Linked DNA regions of Homo sapiens: regions 2 and 3 are each linked to region 1. Evidence: promoter capture Hi-C in human tissues and cell types (Jung and others, 2019). All regions are on one chromosome and are shown on one strand. Each heading gives the region's core, a stretch centred on a gene start or on the middle of the fragment in contact. The rest is flanking DNA. Distances are from core to core; before and after follow the strand shown.

Region 1 (3,978 bases), core at 1,431-3,930:
AATGTGCAAAAATCACAAGCACTCCTATACACCAATAACAGACAATAACAGAGAGCCAAATCATGAGTGAACTCCCATTCACAATTGCTACAAAGAGAATAAAATACCTAGGAATCCAACTTACAAGGGATGTGAAGGACCTCGTCAAGGAGAACTACAAACCACTGCTCAGTGAAATAAAAGAGGACACAAACAAATGGAAGAACATTCCATGCTCATGGATAGGAAGAATCAGTATTGTGAAAATGGCCATACTGCCCAAGGTAATTTATAGATTCAATGCCATCCCCATCAAGCTACCAAAGACTTTCTTCACAGAATTGGAAAAAACTACTTTAAACTTCATATGGAACCAAAAAAGAGCCCGCATTGCCAAGACAATCCTAAGCAAAAAGAACAAAGCTGGAGGCACCACGCTACCTGACTTCAAACTATACTACAAGGCTACAGTAACCAAAACGGCATGGTACTAGCACCAAAACAGATATATAGACCAACAGAACAGAACAGAGGCCTCAGAAATAACACCACACATCTACAACCATCTGCTCTTTGACAAATTGACAAAAACAAGAAATGGGGAAAGGATTCCCTATTTAATAAATGGTGCCAGGAAAACTGGCTAGCCATATGTAGAAAGCTGAAACTGGATCCCTTCCTTACACCTTATACAAAAATTAATTCAAGATGGAGTAAAGACTTAAATGTTAGACCTAAAACCATAAAAACCCTAGAAGAAAACATAGGCAATACCATTCAGGACATAGGCATGGGCAAAGACTTCCTGACTAAAACACCACAAGCAATGGCAACAAAAGCCAGAATAGACAAATGGGATATAATTAAACTAAAGAGCTTCTGCATGGCAAAAGAAACTACCATCAGAGCGAACAGGCAACCTACAGAATGGGAGAAAATTTTTGCAATCTACCCATCTGACAAAGGGCTAATATCCAGAATCTACAAAGAACTTAAACAAATTTACAAGAAAAAAAACAAACAACCCCATCAAAAAGTGGGCAAAGGATATGAACAGACACTTCTCAAAAGAAGACATTTATGCAACCAACAGACACATGAAAAAATGCTCATCATCACTGGTCATCAGAGAAATGCAAATCAAAACCACAATGAGATACCATCTCATGCCAGTTAGAATGGCGATCATTAAAAAGTCAGGAAACAACAGATGCTGGAGAGGATGTGGAGAAAGAGGAACACTTTTACACTGTTGGAGGGAGTGTAAATTAATTCAACCATTGTGAAAGACAGTGTGGCGATTCCTCAAGGATCTAGAACTAGAAATACCATTTGACCCAGCCATCCCATTACTGGGTATATACCCAAAGGATTATAAATCATGCTGCTATAAAGATACATGCACACGTATGTTTATTGTGGCACTATTCACAATAGCAAAGACTTGGAACCAACCCAAATGTCCATCAATGATAGACTGGATTAAGAAAATGTGGCACATATACACCACGAAATACTATGCAGCTGTAAAAAGGATGAGTTCATATCCTTTGCAGGGACATGGACGAAACTGGAAACCATCATTCTCAGCAAACTATCACAAGGACAGAAAACCAAACACCGCATGTTCTCATAGGTGGGAATTGAACACTGAGAACACTTGGACAAAGGGCGGGGAACATCACACACGGGGGCCTGTCGGGGACTGCGGGGCTGGGGGAGGGATAGCATTAGGAGAAATACGGAATGTAAATGACGAGTTGATGGGTGCAGCAAACCAACATGGCACACGTATACCTATGTAACAAACCTGCACGTTGTGCACATGTACCCTAGAACTTGAATAAAAAAAAAAAAAAAAAAGAAAAATTACTTGACATATCTTGACATTTTAGGCTCCCAGGATTTTACAGTATTCTTAACAGGTTTTGTCAGCAAAATCAACCCCCACCCCCGCATCAGTTTAAGAGCCCTGGAAGGCTCTGCCTATTCACCAGCATAGAGCTGAGATCCTTAAAGGGCCAGTTCAGGGCACTGCTCCAGCAACCGTTGCGCTGCTATAAGCTTGAGCACATCTCTTGCCCCTCCTCTCTACTTTTATAGATCCTGCATTTATTTAGCATATAATCTTTTCAATATTGACTTTGTATATGTATGTCTTCCCCTAAACTGGATGTATCTTTTAAGGAAAAGCCTGGGGTTCGTCATCCCCCTATGTATCACCTTTACAGGCGGTCACCCAAAATCTCCACATTCATCATAGAAACAGAAATTCCACTAATAAATGTCAGGTACTGCCTCCTTAACCTTGGTCCGCTATTTCCCTCCCACTTTCAGCAGTCTGGTTTATTCCATGGGTGGAAGAGGAAGCCAAGTTGGCTGAGTGTGAAGGGAATGGCGTCAGTGTGACTTCACGCCACATCGTCCCGAATGCCAGCTCCACACTGCGGTGGCACGAACGCAGGATTGAGAGATGCAGCTGGAGTAAAGAGAGAAGCCCATGTCCCTCAGACGCCACACAAAATGGGGGTAACCGCGAGAACAAAGCAGGGTACCCAACGGGGTGTGGCGGGACACCTGGGCGCACGCCGCCAGCGCCCGGGAGAGCGAAGGCGGGGAGAGAGGAACCACGCTGAGGCGTGGCAGGATGGGGGCGGGACTTCCGGAAGCCATTTGGCTGAGTGGCAGGGGAACCGGAAGTGGAGGAGCTGCTGCTGGTGCTGGGGCCGGAGGAGGGACGCGCCGGAGCGGGACCGACGGGACCGAGCGAGCGACCGACGCGCCACCCGCCGACGCCTCAGCCGCTTGGGGCCCGCACGGACCCTCTACTTCAGTGAGTGCATCCAGGGTCGCAGGGAACCGGTGGCTTAGAGGCGGGGGTCGGAAGGGGCTGCGAGGTGTTATTGTGAGAGGCCCGCGACCTCCCCTCCCCCACCCTTGCGGCCCCTCCCCCCACGCCGCCCCATCCACTTGGGGGGGGCCTCGCGAGCGCGCGCCTTCTCTGCGGGCCCAGCGTCGGCTTCCCAGCAGCCGGCGCAGCTAGTTTTCGCTCTGAGAGCCCTTTCCCGATATTCCATACCGAAAGCTGGCGTTTCTCCTCAGCCGCCGGCCGGCGCCTCCACGGCCTTTCCCAGGAGGGTAGCGCGGCGGGCGCCCCGCCCCGCCCTGCCCTGCCCTGCCCTGCCGGGCCCACCCGCGGTAGGCCTTGCGCACCCCAGCTCGCCCCGGCTGGGCGCTGCAGCTCCTGCCCGGGTCTCCGCTGCTGCCTTTTCCCTTTATCACAGGGGTCTAACTTCTCACTCTTCTCTCCCCTCGCGTCTGGTCGGAGGCCAAAACCAGTTACTCCGTTGTGTTTTTACCGAGCACTTTTCCCTCCTCCTTTTGTTGAAAAATTTCAACTCTTTAGAAACTTCTCCGTTGCCTCTTAGGATGTGTTTATTCAAAAGTTGCATAGACCGTCACCACTCGGAAGGGATTATTTCTTGGAAGGCTTTCCAGCCCCCATCTCATCTTAGACATGAATGTGCTCGGAGCGGCTGGTGACCTGCCCAAGGTCAGCCAGCTAGATAAACCTGTCAGCGGAGAGGTTTGGGGGGATGTTTTTTTCCTGGCTCACCGTCCGTTTGCCAGATCCGTGCCTTCTGGTCTACAGGTTTGATTGACCCGTTGCGTGGTGACTCATGCTTCTGCTTTTCATAGCTCGCAGGCCAGCGTTGCTTTTCAGAATTTATACACAAACAAGAACTAACACTCGGAGCTTTCGCCTCTTTGTAGAGCTTACCCGTAGAGAAAGGAAAGACCACCCGGATCCACCCTAGGACCTCATTTTGTACAGCTTGAAATTATGGGAAGGGGTTGGGCCGGGGGTAAAGGTGTGGAGAAAGTGGAAGGAGAAAGTGCTTAATTAAGATTGTCTTTGCCTTGGATGTGCCTTGTGTCTTTGGCTTCTTCTGGGCACATTGTTCTGACATAAAGGTTGCCTCCTTGTGGGGGAGAAGG
Region 2 (3,551 bases), core at 838-3,337, 170 kb after region 1:
CCAAAGTGCTGGGATTACAGGTGTGAGCCACTGTGCCTGGCCTCTTTCTGGATTTTCAACTGGAATTTTCTGCCCAGCCCTTTATTGGAGAGGCCCAAGAAGGGTTCCTGACCTTCCACCTTAGTGCTTTTAGAGAGAGCACAGTCTTTCTCAATGCCCCCTCACTCCCAGCTAAACTCTTCTTTACTGGTCTGGGGAGTAGAGGAGAGGTTTGGAATGACAGGATGAGTGCTCCAGCAAGGGCTTGTGTGCAACCCGAGGCCCAATCCAGGAAAGCCAGTTGTGGTGGCAGGGACTGGGTAGGCAACTTATGGAGCCGGGGTCTTGCTGGCTTTGTCTAATTTGGAGGGTGGTTCTTTGAGCTCGATGGTTTTCAACCTTTTTATTGCAAAAACTCTTTTTTAAAAAAATATAACCCAGAAGTCCACTGTATAAAAACAATAAAAGCAAAGTTATCCTGGGATGCTCAGGAGATTTGGGGCGGGGGGATGGGGATGGCTTGGTGACAGGAAGGGCGGGGATCTAGAGTGTTGACTGCTCCCAGCCTTCTCCCTCACCGCTGAGGTCCCTTTACAGAACCCTGCCAAGCAGGGAAGGAGAGGAAAAAAAGAAAAACCACCTGGTCCTTCTTGGTTTCTGAGACTCTGAGCCCTCATAGTTTTCTACTGCTCTGATCATTTTCTCTTGCTCCCTTGTCTATACCTAATATTCTTTTCCTAATCATTTTTCTCCTTTCCCTCTCTGTTCCCTCAAAGAACAAGTCTATTTTTTAACTTGGCCTCTCTGTGGATGAGTCCTGTCTGCCTGTCCAGTTCTAACTTCTCTCCAGATTCCCACTGTCAGCTGGTGGCTGAATACTTCCACGAGGATGACCCACTAGCATCTCAAAGGCATGTCCCAGATCGTAGAACACAGGAAGGAAAGGCCCCGGTATTTGAACCCCTACTCTGTTCTTCTTAACAGAATCACTTTGGACAAGACACTTAGTCTCTCTGGGTCTCAGTTTCCTTATCCCTGAAATAGATATGCTAATACCTATCCCTTATAATTAAAGCAGAATAATAAACATAAACTTTGGTAAACTATATTGTACTTCCTGGCTGGGTGCGGTGGCTCATACCTGTAATCCTAAGACTTTGGGAGGCTGAGGCGGGCGGTCACTTGAGGTCAGGAGTTTGAAACCAGCCTGGCCAACATGGTGAAACCCCCATCTCTACTAAAAATACCAAAAAAAATAGCTGGGGGTGGTGGCGGGCACCTGTAATCCCAGCTACTTGAGAAGCTGAGGCAGGAGAATCACTTGAACCAGGAGGTGGAGGTTGCAGTGAGCTGAGATCGCGCCACTGCACTCCAGCCTGGGTGACACAGCGAAACTCCATCTCAAAACAAACAAACAAACAAAAAAACTATATTGTGCTTCAAAAGCTTTCCCCTGTTGCTTTGTTCCCTGACAAAAAGTCAGAGAGGTTAAATAAAGCCATCATCTCCTCTTCCCTCTCTCTCACCCCATACATCTCATCAAGCGCAGAGAATAACTGGTTAAACGATGGATGAATGCTGATTCCTCCTTTCTACCCTCACTGCCACCATCCTCTTTCAGGCCCCCGTATCCTGAGATCCTTGTTTGCATGTCTAGAGTCATGATGCTAGACTCTCCAAGTTATTCTGCACACTGAAGCTGTTTTCCTGGAACTAAAATTAGACGATATCATCCCTCTTCTCGTATACCTACAAGGATTCCTTACTGTTTGCAGAATAAAACCCAAAGTCCTGTCAGCCCCATGGCATCCCCACCATGCCTTCTGGCTTCTCACCACAGTTCACGCTTTTCTTCATGAAGTGCTCCTCCTCACCACTCTCCATATTGCAAAGCTTTCTCCTCTTTCAAATACCTCCGTTTTGGCTGGGCGCGGTGGCTCACGCCTATAATCCCAGCACTTTGGGAGGCTGAGGCGGGTGGATCCCTGGGCGAGACTCCCTCTCAAAAACAAAAACAAAACAAAACCCTCCTTTTCCAGCAAGCTGTGCCTAATACCATGTCAGAAGTAGCTGCTTCTCTCTGTGCACTTCCAAGATCCACTGTTTCACTATTTGTACCAAATGCATTTGGTTTTGTGTAATATTTAGGTATTATGTCTATGTCTCACATCAGATTGTGAGCTGTCCAAGGGCTAAGACTATGGCATTATTTTTCTCTTCTACACACAGTAGGCAAGTACTCAACAAATATCTGTTAAACTGAATTGACTATCACCAAATTTCACTCCTAACAGTTACCTTATTATCCTATGTTTGGTCAGTGATGCTCATAATATCAAAATGAGATAACATCCTTTTATTTATTTATTATTTATTTAGAGACAGGGTCTCACTCTGTCACCCAGGCTGGAGTGCAGTGGCGCAATCTCGGCTCACTGCAACCTCCACCTCACGGGCTCAAGCGATTCTCCTGCCTCAGCCTCCTGAGTAGCTGGGTTTACAGGCATGCAGCACCACACCTGGCTAATTTTTGAATTTTTAGTAGAGATGGGGTTTCACCATGTTGGGCAGGCTGGTCTCCAATTCCCAGCCTCAGGTGATCCACCCGCCTCGGCCTCACCTGAGTGCTGGGATTACAGGCGTGAGCTGCTGAACCTGGCCCTTTCGTTTAAAAGAATAAAAATACTTTCTCTAAGAGCTACAGTTCTGCATTTACAACTGCCTGTCAACAGTTCTGTTTAGAGGCTTGCAGCTTATGTATTCATTCACTCAATGTTTTTTAGGTGTATGTTCTGAGCTTGGTATTGTTATAGATTATTATAACACAAAGAGAGGATACTGCAAAATAAATAAATAAAATTAAAAAGACATTGTCCTTAAGAGCTTGAAGTTTTGTTTGTTTGAGACAGAGTCTCGCTCTGGAGTGCAGTGGTGCAATCTCAGCTCACTGCAACCTCTGCCTCCTGGGTTCAAGCAATTCTCCTGTCTCAGCCTCCCGAGCAGCTGGGATTACAAGCGCCTGCCACCACGCCTGGCTAATTTTTGTATTTTTAGTAGAGACAGGGTTTCACCATATTGGTCAGGCTGGTCTTGAACTCCTGGCCTCAGATGATCCTCCTGCCTCAGCCTCCCAAAGTGCTGGGATTACAGGCGTGAGCCACTGCGCCTGGCCAGAGCTTGAAGTTTTATGAGAGAAACAAACACAAAAACAGTTGTAATACATTACAAGTGTAGTAATGGAGATATAAGCAGGTGTAATGGGAGAATGGAAGAGGGATGCTTGTGATAACTTCTTCTTCCCCAAGACAAATGGCACAGTAGGAAGAACAAGGATGAAACAGGTCTTAACTTACTGGCCTTCTACCTGGCCAGTGGTTTAACCTTTCAACCCCATTTCTTCTGCTAGACACTGTGAGTGATAAAGACCTTTTTTTTTTTTTTTCTTTTTTGGAGACAGGGTCTCTGTCATCCTCTGACAAGCTGGAGATTGCAGTGGTGCAATCACAGCTCACTGAAGTAAAGACCTTTTATATATTGCAGGAATTGCTGTAAGGGAAAAACTAATAGGAGGC
Region 3 (3,853 bases), core at 1,136-3,635, 190 kb after region 1:
AGCTTTTCAGCGTTGACTCGCCAAACTACTCCAGCCAGACCTCTTTCCTGAGCTCAGACCTGCTTACTGTCATCGTCAGCCTTCCCCGGTCCCTCCGATCTGTTTCTCCTCTTGTATTTTTTTATCTCAATGAAGGGCTTCACCATTCACTCAGCCAAGTCTGTCCCTTTAATTTATTCATCTAATAAATACAGCAAACATTTGTCGGACATGCCCTGTCTTCTAGGCAGTGTAGTAGGTGGGGCTGCCTATTGGACGAGGCATAGAAATGAACACATCTAGAAATGATAGTCACAGTGTTCTGGCTTTAGTGCTCTGATTTCCCTCCTCTCTCCCGAAGTTCAAGTCCTGTATTCTGCCTCTTAATTCCCCTAGAATCTGGCGCTTCCTTTCCATCCTCACAGACACTGACTTAGTTCATAATTTCTTGCTTGTGCTTTCAGGATAACTTCCTAAGTGGTCTCTCTGCCTCAGTTCTTGTCCTCCTGTAATTAGTTCTTATGCAGCTGTCAGAATCATTTATTTATTTTAGAGACAGGGTCTTGGTATGTTGCCCAGGCTGGAGTGCAGTTGGTATTCACCGGTGTGACCCTAGTACACTGCAGCCTCGAACTCTTGCCCTCAAGCCATCCTCCCACCTCAGTCTCCTTAGTAGACGGGACTACAGGCATGCACCACTATTCTTGGCTAGAATCGTCTATCTGACCTACAGATCTGGTCATGCCAGTCTCCTTTGTGAAATCCTGTGATGGCCCCTCATCATTTACAGGATAGAGCCTCTGTTCTTCCAGGCCCTTTATAATATGCTCTTGCCTTTCATTCTAGAGCTCTGTCTTGCCACTCCTCCCACTGTCCCTTGCACTCTGGTCATGTCAGAATGGTTAAGAGTTTGGGCTTTGGAGTCAGACATGGATACTTACATATTCTGCTCTACCGTTTATTAGCTGTGACACCTTGGGCAAGTTTGTTTGTTTGTTTGTTTGTTTTGAAATAGAGTCTTGCTCTGTCGCCCAGGCTGGAGTGCAGTGGTGCGATCTTGGCTCACTGCAGTCTCAGTCTCCTGGGTTCAAGCGATTCTCCTGCCTCAGCTTCCCGAGTAGCTGGGACTACAGGTGGGCACCACAACTCCTGGCTAATTTTTTGTATTTTGGTAGAGACGGGGTTTCACCATGTTGGCCAGGCTGGTCAGGATCTCCTGACCTCATTATCCGCCCACCTCCGCCTCCCAAAGTGCTGGGATTACAGGCGTGAGCCACTGCGCCTGGCCTTTTTTTTTTTTTTTTTTTTTTTAACTTTGCTAAGCCTCAGTTTCCTTATTTGAAAAGTGAAGATAATTCTATTTTGCTGAGTGGATGAAGTGAGATGATGTATATAGAGCACTCAGTACAGTTCCTGTAACATAGGAAGTGTTCAGTGGCTATAAGCTTTTGTTGTCATAATTAATTCTTTGCACCCACCTTATGATTTTCTTCTTTTTTGCCTTTGTGCATGTTGTTCCTCTGCCGTGAATTCCCTTACTCCGCTTATCCTGGGGATCACCTGCTTATCCTTCAAGAACTATCTCAATTGTCCTCTGTGAGGCTTTCCCTGATCTTCCTAAGATTATTTGCCCTTACCTTTGTGTTCTGTTATATATTATGTTACTTCCTTTAATTCATGTAACACATTTTGTAGTCATGTGTTTACGTGTTTGGCTTTCCAGGTAGGCTGAGCTCAAGTTCAGGGCCATGTGTAATCAGGTTTGTAGCCCTAACACGTCGCACAATGTCTGGCCCATGGTGGGTGTTCAGTAAGTGATTACTTGGCGCGGTGACTCACGCCTGTAATCTCAGCACTTTGGGAGGCCAAGGCGGGCGGATCACCTGAGGTCAGGAGTTCGAGACTTGGCCAACATGGTGAAACCCCATCTCTACTAAAAATACAAAAATTAGCCGGGCGTGGTGGCAGGCGCCTGTAATCCTAGCTACTCGTGAGGCTGAGGCAGGAGCATCATTTGAACCTGGGAGGCAGAGGCTGCAGTGAGCAGAGATCGTGCCATTGCACCCCAGCCTGGGTGACAAGAATGATACTCTGTCTCAAAAAAAAAGCAAAGAAAAAGTGATTACTTAATGTCTGAATGGCCTTAACTTATATTGCCTGGTGCTGGATATGTCCTTTGGAGCAAGGTAGAATAAACCCTTTTAAATAGGTGAATAGCAGTCATAATAATGTAATGTCTAACATTTATTGAGACCTTAGTATATTTTAAGCACTTTACATGTATTGAATCATATAAGCCTCACAACACATTGTGATGGATATTGTTAGTACTCTCATTTTATAGATGAGAAAACTGAGGCTGTCCAGCTAGTAAGAGGCAGAGCTGGGATTGAAAGCCAAGAATGTTCCAAAGCTTTTGCTCATTACCACTGCGTAATCAACTCTGACATCTTCCACCTTCTCCCCTTTACCTTCTCCAGTCAATCTTTTCTGTGGTCAACCTTCTTTGTAATTGTTGGAGCAGGGTGGAAGAAATAAATATACAGAGAACCCTCATTATGTCTGTGAGTGTATATTCTCTGTTAGTGTGCAGATGTGCAAAACTCTAGCTATGCTGACAAAGTACAGGGCAAGGTAGCCACAATATTGAAGGACTGGGAAACGATATGTACTGAATGGAAGAGAACTGGGAATACTTAGCCTACCTTAGCTAGAGAATCCTAGGGTGTCCCCAGATGAGCAGAAGGCAGACTTGAGATACCAGGGAACATTTTTTTAGAACCTGATTATTGGCTTACTATTAGACCTTCTAATAGTTAAGAATTATCTAACTATGGAATTGAAAATAGAATCTGTAATACTAGCTAAATTTGTGTAACTTTTCTGTATACAGGGACTGTGCTAGGCACTTTATAAGTGTTGTTTCATTTTACTTTCAGGCTTTTTGATTTTTGTTAAGATTGTTTTAATTATACACATGCAGTTATTGAGGCTGAGAGAGGTGAAGCACCTTGCCTAAGGTCATACAGCTGCTAAGTGAGAGAGCTGGGATTTGAATCCAGGTCTTCTGTCTCCAAAGCTGGTACTTTGACCACTATGCCGCCTGTCACTGGAAGCACAGAGAGGAAAATTTTGGCATGGGAAGGAAGGTGGACCAAAACTACTGCGGGTCTTCCTAGCTTCTGAGATTGCTGGTGTATTTTTTTTTTTTTTCAGATAGGGTCTCACTCTGTTGCCCAGGCTGGAGTATGGTGGTACAATCATAGCTCACTGCAGCCTCGAACTCCTGGTCTCAAGTGATCCTCCCACCTCTGCCTCCCCACTTTACACTCTTTATGTAACTCTGTCTTCCTTTCCATCTGATCACATAGCTCCTGCCTCAGCCTTCCGAGTAGCTGGGACCACAGGTGCACGCCACCATGCCTGGCTAATATATATATATATATATATATTTGTGGAGACAGGGTCTTACTATATTGCTCAGGCTGGTCTTGAGCTTCTAGGCTCAAGTGATCCTAGGCCTTGGTCCCCCATAGTATTGGGATTACCGGTGTGAGCCACAACACCCGGCCTATTCCTTGGTTTTATATTAGCAGTTACAGCAGTAACTGAGCTCCGACAGCTTACATAGGCTTATTTTAGGCTTTGTTGGAAAATTCCAGAGGAGGAGACATGGCCCTCAGAAGTTTGTGGTTTAACAGGAGAGGTAAGAAGACACATTTTCATAAAAAAAGTAATATTGGCCAGGCACGGTGGCTCACGCCTGTAATCCCAGCACTTTGGGAGGCCGAGGCGGGTGGATCACCTGAGGATAGGAGGTCGAGACCAGCCTGACCAACATGGAGAAACTGCATCTCCACTAAAAAAATACAGA

Evidence for each region. Contacts are between HindIII fragments. The study calls those that stand out against the background at their distance.
Region 2: a fragment that was not itself captured here is called in contact with the fragment with the promoter of PAFAH1B2 in region 1 in 3 of the 25 tissues and cell types used here (aorta, dorsolateral prefrontal cortex and pancreas).
Region 3: a fragment that was not itself captured here is called in contact with the fragment with the promoter of PAFAH1B2 in region 1 in 1 of the 25 tissues and cell types used here (bladder).

The regions. Positions count from the first base shown.
Region 1 is chr11:117,141,607-117,145,584 of GRCh38, forward strand. PAFAH1B2 (platelet activating factor acetylhydrolase 1b catalytic subunit 2) reads left to right here and starts at 2,681. Exons shown (of 6, transcript NM_002572.4): 1 at 2,681-2,812. RefSeq lists a silencer at 2,891-3,210 and an enhancer at 3,761-3,940. The HindIII fragment of the contact is 6,098 bases long and covers 760-3,978 here.
Region 2 is chr11:117,307,570-117,311,120 of GRCh38, forward strand. The region is part of intron 1 of BACE1 (beta-secretase 1); the gene reads right to left. Among named protein-coding and RNA genes, the nearest start is that of BACE1, 6.9 kb to the right of the region's middle. The HindIII fragment of the contact is 6,827 bases long and covers 1-3,551 here.
Region 3 is chr11:117,328,573-117,332,425 of GRCh38, forward strand. The region is part of intron 1 of CEP164 (centrosomal protein 164); the gene reads left to right. Among named protein-coding and RNA genes, the nearest start is that of CEP164, 2.6 kb to the left of the region's middle. The HindIII fragment of the contact is 5,196 bases long and covers 1-3,853 here.